Regions from separate parts of the Homo sapiens genome. Here regions 1, 2 and 4 are each linked to region 3. The links are contacts of gene promoters, found by promoter capture Hi-C in human tissues and cell types (Jung and others, 2019). All regions are on one chromosome and are shown on one strand. Each heading gives the region's core, a stretch centred on a gene start or on the middle of the fragment in contact. The rest is flanking DNA. Distances are from core to core; before and after follow the strand shown. Region 1 holds the start of LOC105378891 (a long non-coding RNA gene). Region 2 overlaps PSMA5 (proteasome 20S subunit alpha 5). Region 3 holds the start of TAF13 (TATA-box binding protein associated factor 13). Region 4 overlaps STXBP3 (syntaxin binding protein 3).

What was found. Contacts are between HindIII fragments. The study calls those that stand out against the background at their distance.
Region 1: a contact is called between a fragment that was not itself captured here and the fragment with the promoter of TAF13 in region 3, in 1 of the 25 tissues and cell types used here (dorsolateral prefrontal cortex).
Region 2: a contact is called between a fragment that was not itself captured here and the fragment with the promoter of TAF13 in region 3, in 1 of the 25 tissues and cell types used here (hippocampus).
Region 4: a contact is called between a fragment that was not itself captured here and the fragment with the promoter of TAF13 in region 3, in 2 of the 25 tissues and cell types used here (adrenal gland and pancreas).

The regions. Positions count from the first base shown.
Region 1 is chr1:108,813,313-108,816,537 of GRCh38, forward strand. AKNAD1 (AKNA domain containing 1) reads right to left here. Exons shown (of 16, transcript NM_152763.5): 16 at 2,589-2,990. The coding sequence ends at 2,859. It overlaps LOC105378891 (a long non-coding RNA gene), which reads left to right and starts at 278. Exons shown (of 5, transcript XR_947687.3): 1 at 278-330. The HindIII fragment of the contact is 4,821 bases long and covers 1-3,225 here.
Region 2 is chr1:109,416,970-109,420,146 of GRCh38, forward strand. The region is part of intron 2 of PSMA5 (proteasome 20S subunit alpha 5); the gene reads right to left. Among named protein-coding and RNA genes, the nearest start is that of PSMA5, 7.9 kb to the right of the region's middle. The HindIII fragment of the contact is 7,328 bases long and covers 1-3,177 here.
Region 3 is chr1:109,074,541-109,078,119 of GRCh38, forward strand. TAF13 (TATA-box binding protein associated factor 13) reads right to left here and starts at 1,463. Exons shown (of 4, transcript NM_005645.4): 1 at 1,381-1,463; 2 at 447-525. The coding sequence starts at 1,407. RefSeq lists enhancers at 1-706, 1,311-1,370, 1,471-1,720. The HindIII fragment of the contact is 17,261 bases long and covers 1-3,579 here.
Region 4 is chr1:108,792,818-108,796,309 of GRCh38, forward strand. STXBP3 (syntaxin binding protein 3) reads left to right here. Exons shown (of 19, transcript NM_007269.4): 12 at 765-830; 13 at 2,010-2,090; 14 at 3,417-3,492. Among named protein-coding and RNA genes, the nearest start is that of STXBP3, 48 kb to the left of the region's middle. The HindIII fragment of the contact is 3,217 bases long and covers 1-2,887 here.

The DNA of each region.
Region 1 (3,225 bases), core at 616-3,115, 260 kb before region 3:
AAAAAATAAAAATAAAAAAAAATAATAAAAAGATGATAAAAAGCCCTCTATAGACAGTCCCATTGCATCCTGCTGGCAGCTTCCAGCGGCCAGAGCACAGCTAGACCTTGGAGTAAATACTGAGAGGCCTGTGCACCCTGGAGACTGCCAGGTGTTTCTTTACAGCCCTCAGGCAATGCTGAGTCCCTTGATGCCAGCATTAGGGGTACCATTACTTTTACTTCACAAGCTTGTTTTTCTGGTTTATTACTCGAACAGAATTAGAAGAGAGGTCATTAGAATTGACACAAGAATTGCATGAGGGAGGAGATGGCCAAGACTACAGGATCAGTAAGTATAAAATTATCCTTGTAAATCAGAGCCTAGTGTCTTTGTGGAACTCCTTAAGGGCATTGCCTGCCCTTTTTTGCTATTTCTTAGATTAGTCGTGTTGCAGTGATTGCTCATAATGACCCCTAATCTTCAAGGAAATGGAAAATTACATTTAGAATATGGTTTGATAAAGCAGAAATGGGCCATATTTTTAAATCAAAAATGATTATAATTACCAATTTCTATAAATGTTAATTTGAGGGATTTAGAAATATTCGTTAATGGTAGACGTTTCTAACCAAGGTTCCATGGATTTGTTTCATGGTGTCCACGAACTTTTAAAAATGAATGTATTCTTTTCCACGAGAAGGCAGAGCATGGGGGAAGGGAGACTCCATAGCTTTCACCAGATTCCCAAAAAATGAGCCCAAAAAAGGTTAAGAACTAATGAATCATATAAGAACACTTCAAGCCAGAGAAGTATATGATTTTAAACTTGGGGATGAGATAGTGGTACTAACATACAAAACAGATTAGCAAGTTGTGATTAAATTTAGATATGTGATGATACTGGAAGCCTCTTGGAACTGCCAAAAACCAAAATGTCAACAAATTAAGTCTAATGACCTAATTGGCTTTTATTAGCAATTTATGAATCAGGCAGCATCCTATCTATGAAATAGAAAGGCTGAGCACAGGAGTGGGCTTTATAGGCAGAAAAAAACAGAAGAAAATGGAAACAAGGAACAAAAGGTGTCTTTATATGGGTTAAAGCAGAGGGGACTTCCTTATGCCAGCTCAGGTTGACGGGGCCCCTTCTAATGGGATACTGTGAATGTTCTGGGTCTTTTTTTTTTCTTTTAAACTGACCTATTTTAAAGTTCAGTTTGATTACGTGGCACCTAGCATGAGTGACTCCATTCTAGTTTGGTCTGGTCTGTTGGGGTCCCCTGTAGGAGCTTAGTCCAAAAAAATGACCTCCCATAAGTTTTATTTAATAGAACATACACAGTTTAAGCTCTGTTTTTTCTAATACCAGCCATGGTTCCTTGCTATCTTCCTTACAGTGCCACAGCCTGAAGTAAATTTGGCCATAAAGTCAGAGGTATTTTCAGACTGACCTGTGCATTATCTCTTCCAGGGCACCCTAAACCAATTTACAAACCCCAAAGTTAAAAACAGTCCATTCTCCAGCCAGCTAGACGAATACCAGCTGCTCACATTGGCACGAAAATCTAAAGTGGGAATAGATTCAACTCCCTCCTGACCACTGAGCCAAACTCTGGGAGTTGGGAAACCATTTGTTGAATGTCTAGGGTGAATGAAAATCAGAAGTTTCAGGGAAGGGGGAAAGAGCCAATACCCTGCTGTGCTGTCACTAAGGAGGTAATAAATCACTCTTAAAGAAGGAAAGCAAAAGCTTGATCTGGAAGGAAAAAAAAAAAAGCCTGCTCTGGTCTGCATGAAAATGTACTTAATCTCTGGTACACAGTTTTAATGAATTGTCTTTTCCAAAATTTCATTAAGGCTATTATTTTCACATATTTCTGACTTCAAGCGATCTTTAAACAAATAATTTTGACTTATAAGTATATTGTGAGAATTTCATATAGTACAGAAAAGAAGGTAAAAACCCCTTTCTCCCCCAAAACTCCCAGTTTCCTTTACTAGAGGTTCACTTCAGATTTTTAGGTATCTTTCCTGAAAATACGTATGCCCTTTTAAAAAAAATACACAAATGAAGAGCCAGGCACATTGGTGTGTGCCTGTAGTCCCAGCCACTCAGTAGGCTAAGGCGGGAGGATTGCTTGAAGTTCAAGTCCAGCCTGGGCAACATAGAAAGACCCCAGAGGTTACAACTCTCTATATATATGCTTAGGCATCTTGCTTCTTTCACTGACTTTTGCAGATAATCCAACCTCATTCTTTTCGGTGGCCACAAAGTATTGTCATTTATGAATCATCACAGGGGGTATTTAGATTAGTTCCCCCTTGGGGTTGTTACCATCAGTGCTCCAGTGCCCTTCCCTGTACATATATCATGCCACATTGTGTGGCTTATATGTAAAAGAAATTCCTAGAAGTGGAATTGCTGCTCTGAAGGTACATGATTTGGAATTTGTGGAACTTGGTAGATATTACCAAATAGTCTTCCAAAAAGGTTGCATTTCTGCCAACAGCATATGAGAGTACCAGTTTCCCTCCATCCTCACTGACACAGGGTTTCTTCAAACTTTAATCTTTTTTCAGACTAATAGATAAAAGGAAATTCATTGTTTTGTTTTGATTTCTTTTATTATGAGTTAAGAAGAACATAGATTTATTTTAAAATAAATACTTGTTGGTTGCTTTTGATTTTAAGAATCAGAAGTCCTTTCTTTTTTCTTTTTCCTTTAAGTACTTTGTGTTACCCATTTCTTATGGTTTCTGTGTTTTCTCTAGAAAGTCATCTTCCTAAATTGTGTAGTAAGTAAAATACATTTTGGGGGAAGATCAAGTTTTCTTTGCATTTTTTTCTTTTGAATCCTTGGTAGCCTAGCGTTGAACTAGTATTTCAGTCGATTCCTCCACCTCTGTGCTTTAGCAAGGTCTTCTGCAATCGTTTTAATCATTTGATCTGTAGTTTCTTTCAAAATGGTTGCTGTCCTTAGGGCATGATCCAAAGCCGAGTTTAAAATCTACAGAGGAAAAGTCCACACATTTTAATTACATAAACTAACTGCTGTTTCTGTTCTTTGGGTTCTCTCATTATTAAACATTACAAGGTGGAATTTGGGGAGTATTCCTGTTTTCCTCTTGGTCTATTTCTGTTTTTGAGGGTTGGTTTCCTAGGAGACCAGTCTGAGATGGAATATATTTGTTAGGGAAAGGGATTGAAAAAAAGACCAGCACGTGACTGATGAGCATGAATCA
Region 2 (3,177 bases), core at 189-2,688, 340 kb after region 3:
TGGCGTATGCCTGTACTCCCAGCTACGCGGAAGGCTGAAACGGTAGGACTGCTTGAGCCCGGGAGGCAGAGGTTGTAGTGAGCCAAGATCACGCCATTGCATTCCAGCCTGGACAACAGAGTGAGACCCCATCTCAAAAAATAAATAAATAAAAATGAATGCTCATATTTCTAGTTAAAGGTGCAGACTAAAGACATAACATTAGTTCCACGCCTTCCTTAAGTCTATTGATGTAAGATTAAAGGACTTCTAAAAAGGCATAAATCCACTATAACAGAGAGTGGGAGAAGACACAGCAACAAAACTTTGAAGCTAAAAAGAAGATAGGTTAGTGATACCTGGGTAATCCAAATCCTAAACCAGCCGTAAAGAAAGTAAAGAAACAACCTGATTTTTATCACAGGACCTCAAAAAAGGAAATGGTGGCAACAAGGACCTCTGGAAATGGAAATGAACAAGGAGCTAAAAATTGCAAGGTGGTTCAATGTTTAAGAAACAGATTCCCGGATCCCCTCCCCTATGCTGTAAAGCTAGACGACTGCACCTCCCCCACTCCCGTGGAAGACTCCAGGCTTATTCTCTGGAGACCGTAAAATAGAGCGTCTTTGGATTGGGGACACCAAGCACAGTCTAAGGCAGGAATAATGTACTGAAAACGGGATAAATATGTAAAAATTTCCAAACCAAATGTTAAGAACCTCAGCCTTCTTTCCCTACTCAGCTCTCAGAAGCCAGCAGCCAGAAATACCCTCCCGGAATGAAATGAGAAGAGGCAGTTTTCTCCTGAGCAATGTTTTTCAAACTTTTTGACCAAAAGCCACAGTAAGGAATACATTTGATTTCATAACTAAAACCCACAAATAAATATAAATACATAACAGAAACAAAATTTCAGGAAAAAAACCACTCATCACTACTATGGGCAAGGCATTTTGATATCTACTGCTCTGTTTCACTTAAAAAAGAAATGTGGGCCAGGAGTGGTGGCTCATGCCTATAATCACAACACTTTGGGAGGCTGAGGCAGGAAGATCACTTGAGCCCAGGAGTTTGAGACCAGCCTGGGCAACATGGCAAAACTTTACCTCCACAAAAAATAAAAAAAAATAACTGGGTGTGGTGGCATGTGCCTGTAGCTGGGGGCTGAGGTGGGAGGATCACTTGAGCCTGGGAGGTTGAGGCTGCAGTGAGCTGTGATCGTACCACTGCACTCCAGTCTAGGTGACAGAGTGACATTCTGTCTCAAAAGAAATGCTCCTCATGACCACTAAATTTATTTTATTATCTCCTAATAGGTCTAGACCTGCAGTTTGAAAAACATAGCTCTAAACAATCTGACCAGTTCAAAAGGAAAAAAAAATATTTTAGACAGGGTCTCACTCTGTTGCCCACGATGGAGTGCAGTGGCACAATCACGTCTCATGGAGCCCCAACCTCCCAGGCTCACGAGATCTTCCCACCTAAGCCTGCAAAATAGCTAAGACTACAGGTGTACACTACTACACTCAACTAATTTTTTAAATTTTTTGTGAAGACAAAGTCTCACTATGTTGCTCAGGCTGGTCTTGAACTTCTAGACTCAAGCAGTCCTCCTGCCTCAGCGTCCCAAAGTGCTAGGATTACAGGTGTGAGCCTTGCCCAGCCTAATTTTTTAAATTTTTTCTAGACACGGGCTATGTTGCCCAGGCTAGTCTTGAACTCCTAGGCTCAAGTGATTCTCCTCCCTCAGCCTCCCAAAGTACTGAGATTATAGGGATGAGCAACAATGTCCACAAGGAAAAAAATTTTCAAGAAAAATTAGAAAATTGTTGAAGAAAAACAAGACATTTCATCCATAAAACAAGAACGGGATGCTAATAAGAAGAAAAGAAACAAAAGAAGTTGAAAATTAAAAATTATTTCTGGCCAAACACGGTGGCTCATGCCTATAATCCCAGCAATTTGGGAGGGTGAGGCGGGCAGATCACCTGAGGTCAGGAGCTCAAGACTAGCCTGACCAACATGGACAAACCCCGTCTCTACTAAAAATGCAAAATTAGCCAGCGTGGTGGCGCATGCCTGTAATCCCAGCTACTCAGGAGGCTGAGGCAGGAGAATCGCTTGAACACGGGAGGCGGAGGTTGCAGTGAGCCGAGATCACGCCATTGCACTCCAGCCTGGGCAACAAGAGCAAAACTCCACCTCAAAATAAATAAATAAATAAATAGTTTCTACAATACTACTGGAAAATGGGTTCTACCAAATTGAGCAAATAAATCAAAAAAGATGACATGGGGCCTTACACAAGAGGGAGTTAAAGGGAATGCCTAGAATGATCTCACAGAAAATGAAGTCCACAGGTACACAGGAGGCCCAGAGAACAACCAGTCCAGACTGGAGCAGATTAGAAGGCTCCAAGATTTCATTAAGAATCCTTAATAGGGCACTGTGGCTCATACCTGTAATTCCAACACTTTGGGAGGCCTAGGTGGGCGGATCACTTGAGCTCAGGAGCTCGAGACCAGCCTGTGCAACACAGCGAAACCCCGTCTCTACAAAAAATACAAAAACTTAGGCCAGGCGCGGTGGCTCACATCTGTAATCCCAGCACTCTGGGAGGCAGAGGCAGGTGGATCACAGGGTCAGGAGTTCGAGACCAGCCTGACCGATATGGTGAAACACCATCTCTACTAAAAATACAAAAATTAGGTGTGGTGGCACGCGCCTGTAATCCCAGCTATTCAGGAGGCTGAGGCAGGAGAATTGCTTGAACCTGGGAGGCAGAGGTTGCAGTGGGCTGAGATAGCGCCACTGCACTCCAGCCTGGGTGAGAGAGTGAGACTCCGTCTCAAAAAAAAAAAAAAAAAAAAAAAAAACAAGCCGCGCATGGTTGTGCATAGCTGTAGTCCCGGCTACTTTGGGGGCTGAGGCGGGAGGATCACTTGAGCCTGGTAGGTTGAGGCTGCAGTGACCTGAGATGCGCCACTGCATTCTAGCCTGGGTGACAGAGCAAGACTCTGTCTCAAAAAAAAAAAAAAAAAGGAATCCTTAATAGGACACTTAATTTGCCTGAATGTTTTGAGAGGATACATGTAACCTGGAGAGACTTTGGAATGCATTATTGATCATCCTAAATTAAGCAAATATTTTTAAAAAGAGAATTATTAACTCCAAGAAAAACAATGTTGTGCAGAAACA
Region 3 (3,579 bases), core at 213-2,712:
CCCCTCTCTGAGAAACACCCAAGAATGATCAATAAATACTAAAAAAATTAAAAAAATAAAATAAAGCAAAATAAAAACACACAAAAAAAATTAGGTGGGCGTGGTGGCCGGCGCCAGTAGTCCCAGCTACTCAGGAGGCTGAGGCAGGAGAATGGCATGAACCCGGGAGGCGGAGCTTGCAGTGAGCAGAGATTGCGCCACTGCACTCCAGCCTGGGCGACAGAGCGAGACTCCGTCTCAAAAAAAAAAAAAAAGCAATTTATACACACACACACAATTGGGGTTAGGATTGGTACTATCTGATTCAAAAGTTAAACAGAATTTGATAGGCTAGTCTGAGAATATTATCCCTACAGGGAAACATTCAAAGCAATAAAGCTACTTTGAAAGGACATGTCCAAAAGTTTTCATCATCTATAACAAAATCATTGTCAAATACTACTTACATTCTTTAGAAAAAAGTCTCTTTCTTTTACCCTGTCCACCTTCTGCACCTCCTCCAATTTCTTCATTTTCTTCCTCAAACTAGAAGTTAAAATGTATATATAGAAATGTCAAATAATTGCCTTGCATTTGATATTTTAATAATGACATTTTTTTTTCCTTTTCAACAGATAGGCCAGAAAGCCAAAGGAAGCAGCAAAAAAAAAAACCACGAAACCTTAGCATTGAAGGAGCCTATGTATCTAGTCCAACTTCCAACTCATGCAAAAATGGCTTCTACAATGTTCCTAACTAATAATCCTACTGCTTCTACTTGTAAGAGTTCCAATGACCATAAGTTTTATTTTTAAACAACTAAGGTGGCCTATTACTACTGTTACTGTTAAACAGTTGATACTGAATCAAAGTCTACCTTTGTAGACTTTGTAGTAAGCAAAACTAATATTTCCTATGCATTTGCTTATACAGTGCTAAAAACGTTCCTTAAGTAAGCCCGTAACCCTATTTTATAAAAAGAAAACTGATGTTCAAAGTTAAATAACTTGCTCAGAGAGAATGGAAATTTTGAAATCCAGGCTGTCTGACTTTCAATGCATTCTTTTCCCATTACTTCACAGTAAGTACAGTTTTGTTAACAATTGAACTGTTGGCTCATAGTGCGCGCTAATAGATGTTAGTTTTGATCTCTGATGATTCTGTACGTGTTTCAGTGTCTGGCAAATACAGACCAAAATCAAGGGGAAAGGGGTCACAAAACCTACTCTTCCTTCATGTCCTTCCCCACTTTCTAAAATGATCAATCCTTAGGGCGTGAAGTCCCCGAACTCTGTCCGCTGAATTCACTAAGGCAAGCAGACCCGATCCTGAACTCTGCCTCCGCTACTGAGCCCGAAGGAGTGAAGAAAAGACAGGTTTTGGACAGAGACGGTCACTCACCGTGGGGTCTTCTTCCTCATCTGCCATCCCACTAGCACGCCAACTCACAGCGTCCTGCCGGCTGGCTCCCAGCTGGTTACACTACTTCCGCCGCCTCACTTCCGGTGACGCGCGGGGCCGTAGCTGGGCCTAGCCCTCTGCGGCCTGCGGGAGGACGGTGGTGCTTTCCGGCCTAGCGGCGGAAATGCGACAGTCTCTAAGGGAGGAGGCCGGAGCGCCTCCCTGTAATCCCGAAGGAATTGAAAACTAACAAAGAAAAGGAAATCACGGGCTAGGTCGCGAGTATCTCGTTGTCACCCTGAATTTGCTACTGCGTATTGAATCACAGCTTCTTGTTTGGGGACTGCGAAGCTATGGATCATAGGAGGGCAAGCCAGCAGTCCTTTATCAGACAAATATGCTTTTAAATCATTTTAAAGATTTGTAGTTCCACTGTTTCTAAGCACTGTGTTAATTATTGGGGATACTGTGCTTCATCACAAATTTCCAAGAGATGGTGTCCCGAGACTAAGCATTTAAAATTTTGTGAAGGTTTTTTGATTTTTTTTTTTTTTTTTTTTGAGACGAAGTCTCACTCTGTCGCCCAGGCTGAAGTGTGCAGTGGCGCGATCCCGGCCCACTGCAACCTCTGCCTCCCGGGCTCAAGTGATTCTCCTTCCTCAGCCTCCCGAGTAGCTGGGATTACAGGCGTGCGCCACCATGCCCGGCCTTATTTTTGTTTTTTTGAGACACAACCTCACTGTCCCCCGGGATGGAGTGAAGTGGCGCAATCAGGGTTCACTGCAGCCTAGACCTGCTGGGCTCAAGCCATCCTCCCACCTCAGCCTCCAAGTAGCTGGGATTACAGGCGCACACCACCAATGCCCAGCTAATTTTTGTATTTTTAGTAGAGATGGGGTTTCCCCACATTGCCCAGGCTGGTCTGGAACTCATGGCCTCAAGCGATCTGCCCCGCTCTGCCTCCCAAAGTGCTGGGATTACAAGTGTGAGCCACCGTGTCCACCGGGGAAGGCTTTTGGTCAGAACAATGGCTGGCAAAACCACAGGCATCGGAAGGCCAGAGCTAGGGATATAATATAAATGTCCCTACAGTGTAACAGATGATGCTACATAAAGAAAATCCCGTAATACACACGATTTCTGAATGTCCTGCTGAACATTCGGTGAGTGAAAACTAATTATCTGAGAGTTGAACCTATCTTTGTTAATAAACACAAAGCGGCCGGGCGCAGTGGCTCACGCCTGTAATCCCAGCACTTTGGGAGGCCGAGGTGGGCGGATCACAAAGTCAGGAGATCAAGACCATCCTGGCCAACATGATGAAACCCCGTCTCTATTAAAAGTACAAAAATTAGCTGGGCGTAGTGGCGCACGCCTGTAATCCCAGCTACTCGGGAGGCTGAGGCAGGAGAATCGCTTGAACCCGGGAGGCAGAGGTTGCAGTGAGCCGGGATTGTGCCACTGCACTCCAGCCTGGTGACAGAGCGGGACTCCACCTCAAAAAATAAAAATTAAAAAAATAAACACAAAGCATTTTCCCACACTTTTAATGTACGTTGAAGTTTCTAGGAATGTTATTACCCCAAAATTGAATAGTAATTGTATTTTGTTTGGTCTGGAATTCATTAAGAGCTGTGTACCATTTCAAGAAATAACGTCACCAAAAGCAACATCACTTGTAATAATTTGAATAGTGAATAATGAAAAAATAACTTTGATTTGAGGAATGTGAGTTAAATTATTAGGCCCAAAGAGGCATTAAAATGAGAGGCAATCACATCCTGCTTGCCCCCTTTTGAGCTATGTATTTATGTCTTAAAACCGCTTGCTATTGCCACAAGTATTAGTTATAAATTAGCCTAATTATGCCCCATCAGACACCATATCGCACACCCTATAGCTTGATAATGTTTAGCCAATTACTAATCAATGTTATTTTTGTGAACCAATGAGAACTCCTTAAAGACAACTTTGTATCAGCCCACTCCCTGTCCTCATTCTTTTCCTTTAAAAATCCACTTGTACCTGCTGCTAATCTTAGAGTGTATATTCTAGGCAACTTTATGCTGCTGAGTTGTAATCCTCAAGTTTGGCCCAAATAAACTCTCTATTTATATTAATTTTGCCTCAGCTTCTTCCTTTTAGGTCGACAATACTCACCCAAATCAGTCTGCATTCAAAGCAATTCTACATATAGGT
Region 4 (3,492 bases), core at 29-2,528, 280 kb before region 3:
GACAATGTTATGGTAAATTTATTTCACTTTTGCACTGAGTCCTAAGGCATAGTCCCAGGACTGAATGTGTAGGATGTTCACTTAGGTCTCTTTACTTTGTCTAGATCAGGAGATGCTAGTATATTCTTAGCACTAAGACCCCTCTGAAATCTTGTCCAACATTTAGCCACCCAGAAGTTGTTCTTTACTACACCTTTGAGGGTTATGCCCTGTACATGTGCAGCTTAGGGGTTCAAGGACAATCTCTTTACACATTTTTGGGTTATGTTCTGTCTAGCTCCTTTCTTTTTAGCACTCTGCTTCCCAAAATCTACCTCACAGCCCCAAGCTCTTATCTCCATTTTTTTTTTTTTTTTTTTTTTTTTTGCACCCAGGGAGATAATTGCTCTCTACTTGAACTGTATTTCCTTTCAGTGGTGTTTGGAAAACATCTTTAGGGAAAGGAAGGGTGCGTGCAGGGATCACCTTTGGTGCTTTCCTTCACTCAGCTGTCTCAGCTGTGAGCTATTTTTATCCATTACTTGAAAGCTATTGTTTTATTTATTTGTCCAATCTTATTTATTTATGAAGGGAGAGTAATGTTGATATCAGCTACGTTATTGTGAGTGAAACTGGAAGCCTCCTAAATTCTTCTTTCAAAAAAATTGTCAAATATTCAGTAAATTAACTAGATTTGATAATTTGTAAAACTCTAGGATTTCAAAGTTGTAATATGGAATAACTGAATCATAGGCTTGCCTAAAAAAATGTTTGATTTTTCCTAGACATCACTTAGTGCTCTTACCCAGCTGATGAAAAAGATGCCCCATTTCCGAAAACAGATTACTAAGGTAAGCAGTATTGTATATGAGATACCTGATTAGTTTTAGTTTATATTCAGTTTATATTCAGTTCTGTAGTTCGATTTAGCAGTGGGTTTCGTGGAATACTTGGTGTTATTTGTCCTCTAAAACCTTACTATAGGTCTGAGAGATATCCCATATATCTAAGCTTCTTCATAACTTCTCTATATGTATAACCTAGATTTATCTGAATCCAGCTTAAAGTTTCTATATCTTTGTCTTGAATAGCCTAACAGAGTCACATTTATCAACCTTACAAGAAATTCAGCACTAGATTGACTAGTGGATGTTATTCTACATGTTTCTTTAAAGTAATAGTTACTTACTAGTAGATTTAAGAGCATTTAAGCTGTTTAGTCAGGTAAACTATTTTTTTGCTCCTTAAAAACACTATCAGAATAATCTTAACATTTTTGTCATGTTGCACCCTAGTCAACCAATGATTTTTGTGTGTGTTAAAATACTTGAAACATTTAGAAAGATAAATAGAATATGAACTTGAAGAACTTCTGGGTATTTTTCTCATGTTATTTTTCATTACTGTCAAACTCAACACAAATTCAACAATTCAATGCTTCCATCCCATTTATGCTGTCTGTTGATTGCCTCCTGTTGTATTAGTCTGTTCTCACATTGCTGTAAGGAAATACCCAGGACTGGGTAATTTATAAAGGAAAGCGGTCTAATTGACTCACAGATCTACATGGCTGGGAAGGCCTTAGGAAACTTACAGTCATGGCAGAAAGCAAAGGGGAAGCCAGGCACCTTCTTCACAAAGCTACAGGAGGGAGAAGTACAAGCAGGGCACATGCCAGACACTTGTAAAACCATCAGATCTCATGAGAACTCACTTACTATTATGAGAACAGCATGGGGAAAATCACTCCCATCATCCCATGTTCCAAACACTTCCCATCAGGTCCCTCCCACAACACATGGGGATTATGGGAACTACAAGATGAGATTTAGGTGGGGACATAGCCAAACCATTTCACCTGTAAATCACCTTCTCATTTACTTCCTTTCTTGAGCTGTTCCCTTGCTTACATGTTACCTTCTTTCACCTCAGCCCATACTTTCTTTCAGGCCTGTCTCAAAAGTTTAATATTACCAGTTGCACAAAAGTCATTAAAATCCTTTAAATGATTGATTTCTTCTGTTTTTCAGCAAGTTGTCCATCTTAACTTAGCAGAAGATTGCATGAATAAGTTCAAGCTTAATATAGAAAAGCTCTGCAAAACTGAACAGGTATGTGCAGAGTCAGAAATGCCTCTGTTCATAACAAATTTCAAGGATAAACTTTGTAAGTTAAAACCTAACTTTTTGCTTGATACAGTGGTTGGTTTTTACAGAATCACAGACTCTCTCTTATCAGGGGAGCCACCTAGGCAGTATTTAATGTCATTCCCCGCTAACATTAACAAGTAGCTGTAGAGTATCTTAGTAAACAGTCCCTCCTAATATATTATATATTTTTTGTTTAATGGAATGATTTAAATTTTGGGAGCATGATTTCAGGGTGGCATTATTGGCAGGACCTTCTCAGTACGGGATTTAATATAGCATCCAGCAGAGCTCATTTTACAAGGGGCCTTTTATATCATGCCTCAACTGTTTAGACCATTGCCCCTCATAGAATACAAGCTGCATGTAATTTTAATTATTCTAATAGCCATGTTAATGCAGGTAAAAATTAAAAAGTGCAATTAATTTTACGAATAAGTTGGGTGCAGTGGTGTGTGCTTATAGTCCCAGCTATTCAGGAGGCTGAGGTGGGAGGATTGCTTGATCCCAGGAGTTTGAGGGCAGCCTGGGCAAGACCCTGTCTCTTTAAAAAAAAAAAAGAAAAAAAAAACTTTGACAACCTGATGTATTCAAAATATTATTTCAACATATAATCAGTATAAAAAGTTATTAATTAGATAATTTTGCATTGTATTACTTCAAGTCTCCTGGTGTTTTGTACCTACAGCACATCTTAATTCAGACTGATCCCATTTCAAGTGTTCAGTAGTCATATGTGGCTAGTGGCCACAGTACTGGATAGCATAGGTTTAGATTAATGATTTTTATCTTCTCTGATTTATTTTTTGACCTTTTGTATTTTGTATAAACAATAGTTTACAAGTGATGTTCATATTTTCTTGTGTAATGTCATCAGTGTTCCATTAAAATTTGACAAGATTTAATAATAGATTTTGTGTGTTTGTTTTTTGTTTTTTTGAGACGGAGTTTCGCTCTTGTTGCCCAGGCTAGAGTGCAATGGCCCAATCATGGCTCACTGCAACCTCTGCCCACCGGGTTCAAGTGAGTCTCCTGCCTCAGCCTCCCGAGTAGCTGGGATTATAGGCACCTGCCACCACGCCCGGCTAATTTTTTGTATTTTTAGTACAGATGGGGTTTTACCATGTTGGCCAGGCTAGTCTCCAACTCCTGACCTCAGGTGATCTGCCTTGGCCTCCCAAAGTGCTGGGATTACAGGCGTGAGCCACTGTACCCAGCCAATAATAGATGTTTTTAACTAAAAAATGAATTTTGGTTATAGATCACTGACAATATTTTATTTTCATTAAGGACCTGGCACTTGGAACTGATGCAGAAGGACAGAAGGTGAAAGATTCCATGCGAGTACTCCTTCCAGTTCTACTCA